2 separate regions of the Homo sapiens genome follow, and region 2 is linked to region 1. Evidence: promoter capture Hi-C in 16 types of primary human blood cells and fetal thymus (Javierre and others, 2016). All regions are on one chromosome and are shown on one strand. Each heading gives the region's core, a stretch centred on a gene start or on the middle of the fragment in contact. The rest is flanking DNA. Distances are from core to core; before and after follow the strand shown.

What was found. The method cuts DNA at HindIII sites, captures the fragments that hold promoters and counts their contacts. A CHiCAGO score of 5 or more calls a contact.
Region 2: a fragment that was not itself captured here is called in contact with the fragment with the promoter of BCAR1 in region 1 in 2 of 17 cell types (total B cells and naive CD8 T cells); the score reaches 6.1 in total B cells.

What each region holds. Positions count from the first base shown.
Region 1 is chr16:75,249,841-75,256,063 of GRCh38, reverse strand. It overlaps BCAR1 (BCAR1 scaffold protein, Cas family member), which reads left to right and starts at 4,440. Exons shown (of 7, transcript NM_014567.5): 1 at 4,440-4,593. The coding sequence starts at 4,582. It overlaps LOC105371344 (a long non-coding RNA gene), which reads right to left and starts at 266. Exons shown (of 3, transcript XR_933740.3): 1 at 1-266. RefSeq lists enhancers at 1-445, 446-986, 1,526-2,066, 2,067-2,606, 3,688-4,228 and 1 more and silencers at 4,228-4,337, 4,398-4,557. The HindIII fragment of the contact is 27,287 bases long and covers 1-6,223 here.
Region 2 is chr16:75,769,599-75,775,215 of GRCh38, reverse strand. The region is part of intron 2 of LOC105371348 (a long non-coding RNA gene); the gene reads right to left. Among named protein-coding and RNA genes, the nearest start is that of CPHXL, 46 kb to the right of the region's middle. The HindIII fragment of the contact is 1,456 bases long and covers 1,946-3,401 here.

The sequences.
Region 1 (6,223 bases), core at 3,191-5,690:
GTGACAGTAGGTTCACCTCCGTGCTATCCACAAAGGTTCCGTGCCCTCGCCTGGGTTTTGTTTTTGTTTTTTTGAGACGTAGTTTCGCTCTCTCGCCCAGGCTGGAGTGCAATGGCACCATCTTGGCTCACTGCAACCTCCGCCTCCCGGGTTCAAGTGATTCTCCAGCCTCAGCCTCCTGAGTAGCTGGGATTACAGGCATGTGCCACCACGCCCGGCTAATTTTGTATTTTTAGTAGAGACGGGGTTTCACCATGTTGGTCAGGCTGGTCTTGAACTCTTGACCTCAGATGATCTGCCCGCCTTGGCCTCCCAAAGTGCTGGGATTACAGGCGTGAGCCACTGTGCCCAGCTGTTTTTTGTTTTTTTTTTTGAGATGGAGCCTTGCTCTATCGCCCAGGCTGGAGTACAGTGGCGTGATCTCAGCTCACTGCTTCACCTCCTGGTTCAAGCAATTATCCTGCCTCAGCCTCCTGAGTAGCTGGGATTACAGGTGCCCGCCACCACGGCCAGCTAATTTTTGTATTTTTAGTAGAGACGGAGTTTCGCCATGTTGGACAGGCTAGTCTCGACCTCCTAAAGTGCTGAGATTACAGGCGTGAGCCACCTTGCCCAGCCTTGCCTTGGTTTTGAGCTTGCCACTGTGAGTGTCCAGCCTAGGGGGATGGTGTCAGCTCTCATTGGCCCTCCAGAGATACCGTTTCTTCCTGTTCCTGGGGCTGGCAGTGCTCACCTCCGGCCTCAGGAAATCCTCTCCTGCTGCCGCTCCCAGAGCTGGCCATCAACCGAGTCCACCCTCCCTGCTGCTGGGAGGCCGAGGCTTCAGGAGGGGAGGGGGCTGTGTGCCTTTACACTGTGCAAACTGGTTTTAGCCTGCTCTTTTCACTTTAGTTTGTTGTAAGCATTTTCTTGCATTATTTCAGTCTTTGGAAGAGGCCATCTAATAGCTGCAAGCTATTCTACTGAGGCGCTGTGGTTTGTCTCACCGGTCCCCTAGAATTAGCATTGATAGGTGAGCCTGTTTTGCTCCATGCTTTGCTGTCATAAATGCTGCAGTGGACATTGGTGAGCATTGAGCAAGAAAAGTTCTGTGCAGTGGGTCTGTCCTGAAGGCAGATCTCAGAAAGCCCAAAGAGCAGGAACCCTATCCCAGGCTTATCTTTCCACTTGGGTCCAGTATAACCCCCTCCACTCCAGACACTTAGTGTCCTGGTGTGCTGGGTCCACCTGTTTTCTGTACAAACAGCTATTCCAGGCCCTGAGGGGTTGGAGACATCCCTTCCAGCCTGTGAGCTCATCTTCAACCTGGCTGGAGGTGCCAGGCCACTCCTGGGATGACACAACTGTCTGGGAGGGCCCTGTGCTGGTGCCCCGGCCACATATCTGCAGCTGTCTCCCTTGGTCTGGCAACAACCTCTCCCAGCTCCTCCTTATTCAGGGCGTCTCTCCTTGCTGCCAGTCCCACTGTGTGTATACGCATGCGTGTGTGCTGTGTGTATGCAAGTGTGTGCCTCTGCACTTAGGCGTGACTTAACCACCCCCATCCTCCAGACTGGGGCAGCCTCAGATTTCTTCACCCAGGCCAGCCTATCCCATGAGGGCCACCTCTGAGGTCCCACCCAGTCAACAAATGTTTACTGCACCCCTTCTCACCAATGGGGCTAAACTTAGTGGGGTGGGGGTGGTGCTGGCCCCAGTGCTGAGCTCAGTTTTACTGGGGAGGAAGGTGCTTAGGTCTCAGTTGCCTGTCCTTTTGCAGTCTGAGTGTGACAGGGGTGTTTGGCTTTCTGAGCCTGGAGTGCTGCTGTCCCTGTCCCTAGATTCCCTTCCTGCTGCAGGGTGGGCTGAGGTCTAGCAGCCCCATTTCTTCCCTGGCCCTGTCCCTTCTGTGCCCCGAAATGTGTGGGATGGGGCAGTGGTTGGTAAACTGGGTCTCGGTCTCTTCATGTGAAAAATGGGGCTAGGCTGGGTGCAGTGGCTCACGCCTATAATCCCAGCACTTTGGGAGGCTGAGGTGGGTGAATCACTTGAGGTCAGGAGTTCGAGACCAGCCTGACCAATATGGTGAAACCCCATCTCAAAAAAAAAAAAAATTGGGGCTAACGGTGAGCCTGTTTTGCAGGATTGCTGTGTGCACAAAATAAATGCATGGGCATAGGGCCCCTGGCACTGGCTGGGCGCAGAGGCTGTGCTGGGTATGTGGGGCTGCATCCCTGTCCTTGACAGCGGAGGTCCGGGAGGCTGGACTGGGGGTGGGGTGAGGTTCTGCCCCCATATACCCCGGCCAGAGCCTGGCCAGTGGGTGCTCCTCCCCCACCCCCCAGCTACATCCCCATCAACACTGTGGGGCTTAACTTCTGGGGCCTTGTTTCCAAAGCGGAAATGCCATTCTGGGAGGCACAGGCTTTTGGGGGAGGGAATTTAAGTGGAAAAGGAGCAAATTTTTGAAATGCCTGTGTCGGAGCCTGTTTCCCTTGCTGCCTCCTGCTCACACCAGCAGCCCCACCCCCAGTGCTGTTCTAATGCAGCTACTGGGGGAGGAGGGTCTCATCCCCCAAGGTTCCAGCCATCCACCTCCTCTCTGCACCGCCCTCCTTGGCCAACTAGGATGGAGCAGGGGCCAGCTCCCTTGAGGGCCAGGCCTTTTGTGTCCTTGCCCGTCCCTGCAGAGACTGCTGCCTGGGGCCCTGCCAGCAGGGCACTGCCTGCCCATGAGGCCTGGTCTCCCCTCCCCACAGAAGTGGAGGCCCAGGGATGACCTCAGGCTCCTGAGGGTCCCGCTGGTTCAGACCTGCTCTCTGGGAAGCTGGTGTGCCAGCCAGGCTGAGGAGTGGGTGGCTGGACAGGGTCAGGGTGCAGGAGGGGCCCGGCACAGCTCTTGGGAACAAGCAGGAGGAGATGCTCCAGGCAGCTTCCCTGAAGGCTGGCTCCTCTTCTGAGGCGAGGCGGGCTGTGTCGGGGAGGCACAGGGTGTTGGCTAGCTGTTCTGTTCCTCCTGAGGACTCTGGGTCATGCTCTGTCTCATCCCACTGCTCCTTCCTCACCCGCTGTGCTGTGAGTTCTGGCCAATGCTTCCCAAGCCAAATATTGAAGAAATGCAGACGTCCAGTTTTTTGGGAGGGGTGGGACACAGGAGTCTGTTTTTTAACTAGCTCCCCAGAGCACCTGAGCAGCAAATCATGGGCTGTCCTAGCCCCTTTTCAGATGAGAAAGGAGCCCAGAGAGGGGAGAGGGCCTGCCAAGGTGGCACATCTGGCCAGGCGCTGCGTAGGCTGAGCCCTGGGGGTCAGACAGAGGGGCAGCTGCAGGCCCACCTGGGCTTGTGTCTTCCATAGGCCATGCTTGAGAATTCTCTGCTGCGTGAAGCCGGGTCTACCCCGCTGCTTCCCTGCCACCAGGGCTGCCTCGTGGCATCCCATTGCTCAGCCAGTGGCCCAGGATTGTTGACTGAGGGTCCTGTCTGGTCTGGACCAGGCTCGGTCCTATCATCTCCCTGCAGATTGTGCCTCCCTGGCCTGGCCCAGGGGCTCTGGCACCCTGGTTCTGCTGCATGGGGTGACAGTCACTGACCTGCAACCGAGCAAGGGGCAACTCAGGAGAGCCAAGGTTGTCTCCACTCGGTTTCCCCCGAGTGATTCTTCCTTCTATCTCCCTCATTCCCCCAGTGCCGCTCTCCTACCCCATGTCGCTGAAGCAGATGAGTTGGAGCAGGACTCAGGAGGGTACTAGGCCCAGGTTTTAGGCTGAACCTAGGAATGAGTAATGAGAGGAGGCAGATCAGCTGGAGGACCAGCCCGAGTCCCCAGATGTCGGCACAATGCAGGGGAAGGTAGGTGCTGCCCGTGAAAAGCGCTGGGTCGAGAGCTCGCCAGCCTCCCTGCTTGAGGCTTCATTTCCTGGGGTCCTTACACGGTGGGACCGTCTACAGTCGGAGCTGTGGTGGTGATGATTCGTCTCCTACAGGCTGGGGCACGCCCCCTCCCCTTTCCCTCTAGATTCAGATTTGAGTCCCACGGCCCATGGACACGCGATGAATGCCCTGGGGTTGGTTAGCGGGAAAGACAAGTCGACTTGAGGCCATGTCTCGGCTCTGGAGGAAGAAGGCAAACCGGGCAGCCTTCCCAGAAGTGGAGGAGTTTGCGTAGGCCTTCGGTGCGTTCTCGCCTGGGTGGAAGGCGGGGACGTGCATTTGTTGGAGAGCGGTGTCCTGCGCCCTAGGCTGGAAGCCTGGCCTCGGGCAGGGGCCTGGAGCCTCGGGGTTGGAGGTGGGGGGCGGGGCGGGGGGCGGCCCCTACTGGGCGGGCTTCTGTCTGCGCGCCCGCGCCCCCGACAGGCGGCTTATTTGCATGGAGAGCGGCGGCGGCCAATGGGCGCGCGCGGCCGGGCATGCTGGGATCGGGCTGGGCCGGCTGGGCCGTGGCGGCAGGCGGAGAGCGGCTGGACCGGCTCTGGGTGGCCGAGGCGGCAGCTGCGCGGCGGCACCGGGGCGGCTGCGGCGCGCTCGGAGCCCCGAGGGCACGCGGCCCGGGCAGCTCGGTGTGCGCCCCCGCGAGAGCCGGGGCCCCAGGCCCGCCGGACACCATGAACCACCTGGTGAGGGCGCCAGGTGGGGCCGGGCCGCGTACGGGCTTGGAGGCGGCAGCGGGCTGGAAGGGGTTAAGCGAGCGGCATTTCCTGCCGGACCTGCGGGGCCTGGGAACCGCCGGCCGGGGTCCGCGGCCCTGGGATCTCCTTCTGCCCTGGCCGGGAAGCCGGGAGGCAGGAACCGCGGGGGCTCCGGAGCCTGTGCGCCTCGGGTGCGTTGGCGGGGCCGGGCGCGGGGGCCGCCAGCCGGTAGGAGGGTTCCTGTGTCGGGAAAGTGGCTGGCGGGGCCCGCGCTCCCCGGCCGACGGCCGCCTGCTGTGTCACCTTGGGCCTCTGCGCCCTGCCTCCGAGCCTCAGTTTCCTCGGCTGCGAGGAGGGGCCGTTGAGCCTCTGGCGGGTGGTCCGGCTGGTGTGGCGTGGGGACTGCCCACCGGCTCCCGGAGAGGGAGGAGCTCCGGGGGACCGAGGCCGGGCGGGCAAGTGCGTGGCGCCAGCGGGGAAGGCTGCGCAGCCGGAGCACCCGGCTCCAGTTAATGATTCACTCCGGCCGCCGGCGCGGGGTTCCGGGAGCGGAGCGGGAGTGGGGGCGGGCGCGCCGCGGGCTTTGCAGCCCCGCACGCCGAGCGCCGGTGGAAGCCGGGTCCTGGCCACAGGAGTCCTAGCCGCACGCGAGTGTCGCGGGAGGGGGCCAGGGCCGGGTTCTGCAGTGTGGACATGAAGGCTTTGGAGTCCATGGTTGGGGGACCCGCAAGAGCTAGAGCAGGGTCGGAGCTCCCTCTCGAGGGTCCGAGAGGCTGATCGCTGGACCGAGGTGAGGGAGTTGGGAAAGCGGAGATTTGCCTAGGGGTGCGGGGTGAGGGGCTTACGGCCTGGAAGATGTTGGGGTTTCGAGTTCCAGATCGGGGACAGCAGCTCCTTTTCTACCACAAGGCTCCCGTTCCCTCCTGAGAGTCCCTGGTTTCCTTTCCCACACCCCTCCCGGGGCCCGCCGCAGCTTTGGTCACCTTCTCAGAATGACCATGGGTTGATCTCTTCTTTGCTAGTGAGATGTTTCCCATCGCCCTGGGCCGGGACACGCCCCCTCTTGTGCCCATTCCTTTCCCTCGGTGGAGAGTTGGGTGGTGGGGGCTGGCCGGCCTGTGAGAGCAGGTGTCGGGGTGCCTGGAGAATCGGGGCCCAGGTACGGGGGTGGCGGGGCTGTGGGGAAAAGAGCTTTGGGGAGGAGCTGCTGACACTTCCTCCTGGCACTGCTTGCCCGGGAGCTGGGTGGAGGCAGGGCAGGGCAGGGCAGTCCCAGGTTCTGCCAGGAAAGTCACCTTGGGCTGGGGCAGGAGGCTTGGAGCTTCTGGCCGTTACTGTTTGTCTGAGCAGGAGGGTGAGCACTGTGTACTGGTACCATGGCCCCAGGTCTAGGCGAGGGATGGAAATAAGGACAGTGCCACTAGGGCCTCCTGTCTGTACAGGAGGGGCCCTGAGACAGCTCCTCAAACCCCTTTCCCATTATACGGATGGTGCAGATGGGGACACTGAGGTACAGAGAGACAGTCAGTTGTCCTCAGAATTGGATCCAGAACCTCGTCTTCTGGCATGGCCCCCCAGTGCAGCACCACATGTGGCCTCCGAATTCCCAGTCTGGGAT
Region 2 (5,617 bases), core at 1,424-3,923, 520 kb before region 1:
TCTGTTCATTACAAGGAGTCTCCTCTCCTCCAATTCCTTTAGGATCTTATCATCTAGTTGGAGAAAGAGAAATAAAACTGGACAGAGTATTGTGTTTAAATGTCAGCACTTTGTTTTACAAATGATGCTGACAAACTTGGATGAATCTAGGATAAAGTTAGCCAGATATTGAACTGCCCAAAAACTGAATTATATGAATATTAATTTTTAAAAGCAAATATATTTGGCCTAGAGAAAGCAAGACTTAAGATCATGATATCTGTTTACAGATCTCAGAAAGTATGCTATTTTAAATAGGAACTATACAATTTTTGCATAGCTTCATGAAAGAAAACAAAGACCAACATTTGAAAATTTCAGGGAGGCATGTATTATTACACTATCTCTAACTTTGCAAAAATAACTCCATCTGAAAGTGAGCTAGTGTGTTTCTGATCACTGGATGCTTTCAAGTAGATTCCCATTACCCATGGGCCTGGAATATTCCACAGGATTTAGGCTTTGGATAGAAGTTACAACTAATATCTTCCACATTTCATTAAATGCCTGTATCTGTGAGTCTAAATGGATCTAGCACAGACTTACGCATAATTGGTTGTATTATTTGTCAAATGCACATGTGAATTCTTGTTCTGTGAGTGGATTGCCAGTTCTGGGGAACATTGGCTTGTTAATTATTTCATGTATAATCCAAGCTATTTGTTATATATCTTTGTATTTGCTTTCCCTTTGTCCCTCATCTCTCCATTTAGAGTCATTTAGGGGAAATTTTCTTGCCGGGCAAATGAGTACATCCCAGGGTCAAAATGGGAAATGAAAGAGACTTAAAATACTTTTATTTCAGCTCTAGTGAGACTGAAAAGCAACTGACTCATGCAAAATTTGATAATTACATGTGGTTTCTTTATTTAACAGCTATCATTATGCCATTATGTATCAGACTATAATCTACTCAGAGTTTTCTTTCCTAATATTTGGAACTGATAAGTGAAAATGACAGCATTCCATGAGGAGGTATTTCACATTCTCCTTATTTCAGCAGAAGCATCTCTTCCATATTCTACAATTCCTTCAAGTTCTAATGAATTGTTTATGTATAGAGTGAAATAATATATTTTGTCCAATAATTGTATAGCTGATAATTTTATAAGTAGTAGTTTTTGTGAGTTGTTAACCCCCCACCATGGATGACAACAGCAGCAACAAAACTCTACGTACTCAGACATAAAATGTAGCCAAATTTTATTTAGAAACTTTTGCCTGGGCCTGGATTGGTGGCTCATGCCTGTAATTCCAACACTTTGGGAGGCCAAAGCAGGAGGATCACTTGAGGTCAGGAGTTCAAAACCAGCCTGGGCAACAAAGTGAGAACCCCATCTCTACCAAAAAAAAATAATAAATTTAATTTAATTTTTTAAAAATGTCTGGGTGTGGTGGCACACACCTGTAATCCCAGTACTTAGGAAGGCCAAGGTGGGACAATTGAGCTCAGGAGTTTGAGACCAGCCTGGACAACATAGCAAAACCCCATCTGTATGAAAAAAAACAAATGTTAGCTGGGCATGGTGGCATGTGCCAGTGGTTCCAGCTACTCAAGAGGCTGAGATGGGAGGATCACTTGAGCCCAGAAGGTCAAGGCTGTAGTCAGCCATGATAGGACCACTGCACTCCTCCAGCGTGGGCAACAGAATAAGACCCTGTCTCAGAAAAAAAAATTAAAAAGGAAGAAACTTTTGCATTTTAATAATTTTAGTGTTTAATTTATAATTCTTTTTAATTATCCATGACTTTTCAATGTAAAACAATATATTTTCATTATGCAATTATTTTTAATCTACTATAAATAATTAGAATAGGTTAAAGACAAAAATCTACTTAACATTAAAATACTAAAAATTTAAATATTGGAAGGTATTATAAAACTTGTGTAAAGTGCTCTAAAGCTTAAGAGTAATACACTTACAAACAAATAACTTGATAGTAGCAGCATGTAGATTTTCAGATACAAGATTTCTTTCTTTTTTATGGTTTCTCTCCTCTTTTTCAAGGATTATAATAACATATATGTTAGACCTTTCATTCTCTCTTTGGTCTTTTATCTTCCATTACTTTGCCTCTTCCTTTCTCTATTGGTATATTTCTTAGATTTATCCTCCAAATTGCTAATTTTCTCATTTCAGCTACATCTAATCTGTTGTTAAATTCATCCATTGAATTTTTAATATTCAGTTACTGCATATTTCAGTTCTAGACTTGGTATTCAATCCTTTTTATTGGATTGAATAAAAAATCCAATTACTGGAATAAAAATTCCAGTTCCTGTTTAAATGTTCTATTTGATCATTTAATTTCTTGAACATTTTACATTATTTGTAAAGTCTTTACATTGTTTGTTAAAGACTATTAAAGACTTTACATTATTTGTAGTCTTTGTCTAGCTGTGATCTTCAATATTCATCTCTCCAGTTTTGTGAAACTGGCAAATGTTCTGCTCGGATGCTGGCTACTGCTTTCTGCTCTGGTTTTCAGCTGAAATCTCCAGCTCCTGCTTTCTCTATCAGCAAATGCGTTGAAGATATAAGTTATGCCAAATATTGAGCTCAAATCCTAGGATTACCTTCTTTCTGGGAATTTGTTTCATCAAATCTTTACTGCTTTGGTAGCTCTGCTATCCCATCAAAAACTCATAGTTCTTCCTTCTTTTATAGTTGTTTTCAGTGGAAGGGCTGCTCCAACACTATATAGCCATGTTTCTTTCTTTCTTTCTTTCAGAAGAAGAAGAAGAGGAGGAGGAAGAAGAAGAGGAGGAGAAGGAGAAGAAGATAGTGACAAGGATAGCAAATGCAAACCTAAGAGACAAAGAAATTCAACTACTAGAAGGACCACAGGCAAAATTGTGATATGGGATTATCTTCCTCTAATGTCATTTTACTTCCCTTTTTTTCACCATTACTTACATCTGTCATTTTCTTTCTACTGGGACCCAATGTCTTGTACATTCTAACTTCTTGGAAGTCTAAATCAAACTAGGAATCAGGAAGAAGATGATCATAGACAGCAAAAAATTACACATATATTGCATTATTTTACTCATCAGGAAAAGGCCTGTGAAATAAGTATTTATGAAATCACAGGAAGAGCTGAAGTAGAAGGACATCTACAGGCTCTTCTTAGTAGTCATCAAAATATACCTGGTAAGCAGCTACCTACCTAGAGATAAGATACCTCCTACCTTACAGTTCACTGGGATTCTATTAGAATTTATTTTTCACTCTGCATTACCTTTTTTGGTAATCTACTATATATCAGTGATATAGAAATTAACTGTATTCTTTTTAACCCCAAGAGTTTTCTCTTTGACTCAAAAGATATATGGCCTCTTGTGGTCTCCAATCAAAGCTTCTATTGGATATTTTATTTAGTGTAAGATTTCTTTCTACATATTCCCATTAATGCTCCCATTCACTCTCCATTTCCTGATCAGCACCTTTTTTTAACCACTGGATAGTTTATGTAAGTAAGACAGTGTTCTACACTCTACAAAAATAAAGTTAATTGAAACTTTGTATATTTTAAACTTGTTTTACTTCCTTTGGAATCTAATACATAACCCATATTCTGGAGGATAATGAATCAATTTATTTTGATTTGGTTCTCTGGTTGCAGTAATAATGTAAATTCAGGGGGGAAATGTAAATAAAAATTGAAAGCAACAAAAACAAATTTTCTGAATTATAGTAAAAATGCAGAATTAAATATGTCTTAAATGTTTAAACATCTTAGTGTATCTCAGTTGGAAGAAAAACAACCTCTGTGAGAACAGAAAGAAGATGACTAAAGAGCAGTGTGGTCTGAGAAGGATTCTAAGGTTGTTTTTTATCTTTAAAAAGAGGGGTTGGCAAAATATGATCCTTGGGCCAAATCCAGTCTGTGACTTTTCTATACATAATGTTTTATTGAAACACAGCCATTTATTTATATACTTACAATGGCTATTTTTGTACTACAATGGCAGTGTTGAGTAGCTGTGACAAACACAATCTGAAGCACAATACCTAAAGCATTTACAATTGGTACCTTTCTAGGAAAGATTTGCAGACCCCTGCTGAAGAAAATCTTGATGGTGGTAACATCAGCAAAAATGGCAGAGCAGGGACCCTCAAAAATTCACCCTTCCATAAAAGCAATGAAAAAATTATTTAAATGGTCAGAATTACCTTTTTCAGATCTCCAGAAATGAATCAAAAGATTTTGTGTGACTGAAGTGGATGTAGAAATTTAAAAAAAAAAAAGAATTAAAAGCTTCCCATGACCTGGGGAGAGTTTACTCAAGAAAAATGGCTGGATGGCTGTAAGAAAAGTTAGCTTTGTGACATTTTAACTTTCCCTGGTCCCACCCCCCACTCTCTAGCTCAGAAAAAGCCTTGAAAAATACTCATCTGCATTGCTGGTGCTGCCTAGCAGTCATCAGTGGGACCAGAATAGAGATGAAGCTCTTTCAAAGTATAATTCCCAAAATATTATCTCTTTTTTTTTTTTATTGAGACACAGTCTTGCTCTGTCGCCCAGGCTGGAGTGCAGTGGCACGATCTTGGCTCACTGCAAGGTCTGCCTCCCAGGTTCACGCCATTCTCCTGCCTCAGCCTCCCGAGCAACTGGGACTACAGATGCCTGCCAGCACACCCAGCCAGCTTTTTGTACCTTTAGTAGAGACAGGGTTTCACCATGTTAGCCAGGATGGTCTCGATCCCCTGACCTCGTGATCCACCTGCCTTGGCCTCCCAAAGTGCTGGGACCACAGGCATGAGCCACTGCACCCAGCCAATATTATCATTTCTTATTTGTCTGGTGGTTCTCTTGAAAAACTCATTAAGAGGCTGCCTTGGAGCTCACTCACTTCAGAGGATTTCTGTCAGGTGATGTTATTTTTGGAGACAATTACAGGCAAGTGTTTTAACTTTGTGGCTGCCTGAGGAGATTAACAACAGCTGAGGCAAACAAAGGACTAACCAAAAACCTTGAAAATAAAATAGAAGTTTGAAAATAAGATGTCTAGAAGGACATCAGAAGGCTCTGACAAAATCTCAGGGATCTAAATGACCATGTGTACTCCCAGGATAGTACACAAGCTCAGGGAAGACCTGGAAAGGCCCTCAGCTCTCATCTCTGCTTACCTTGAGGATCTATGTAGGCAGTAAGAAAAGGCTTAGATGGAGTTACAAGCTGCCTAAGTTTTGAGGACATGACCCAACATGCACAGAGAGCCCTTCAGCAAATGAAAGATTTATTGATTCCAGACCTCTAAGGAAACCTGTCTAATTACTAGCTAACCACTAAGCTAACTGAGTAGTGGCATCAATGCCCATACATGACAAAGAATACAAACTTTACTGAATTGCCTTAGAAATGTAAGTAAGAGCCGGGCGCGGTGGCTCATGCCTGTAATCCCAGCACTTTGGGAGGCCGAGGTGGGTGGATCACAATGTCATGAGATCGAGACCTTCCTGGCTAACATGGTGAAACCCTGTCTCTACTAAAAATACAAAAAAATTAGCTGGGCATGGTGGTGGGCACCTGTAGTCCCAGCTACTCAGGAGGCTGAGGCAGGAGAATGGCG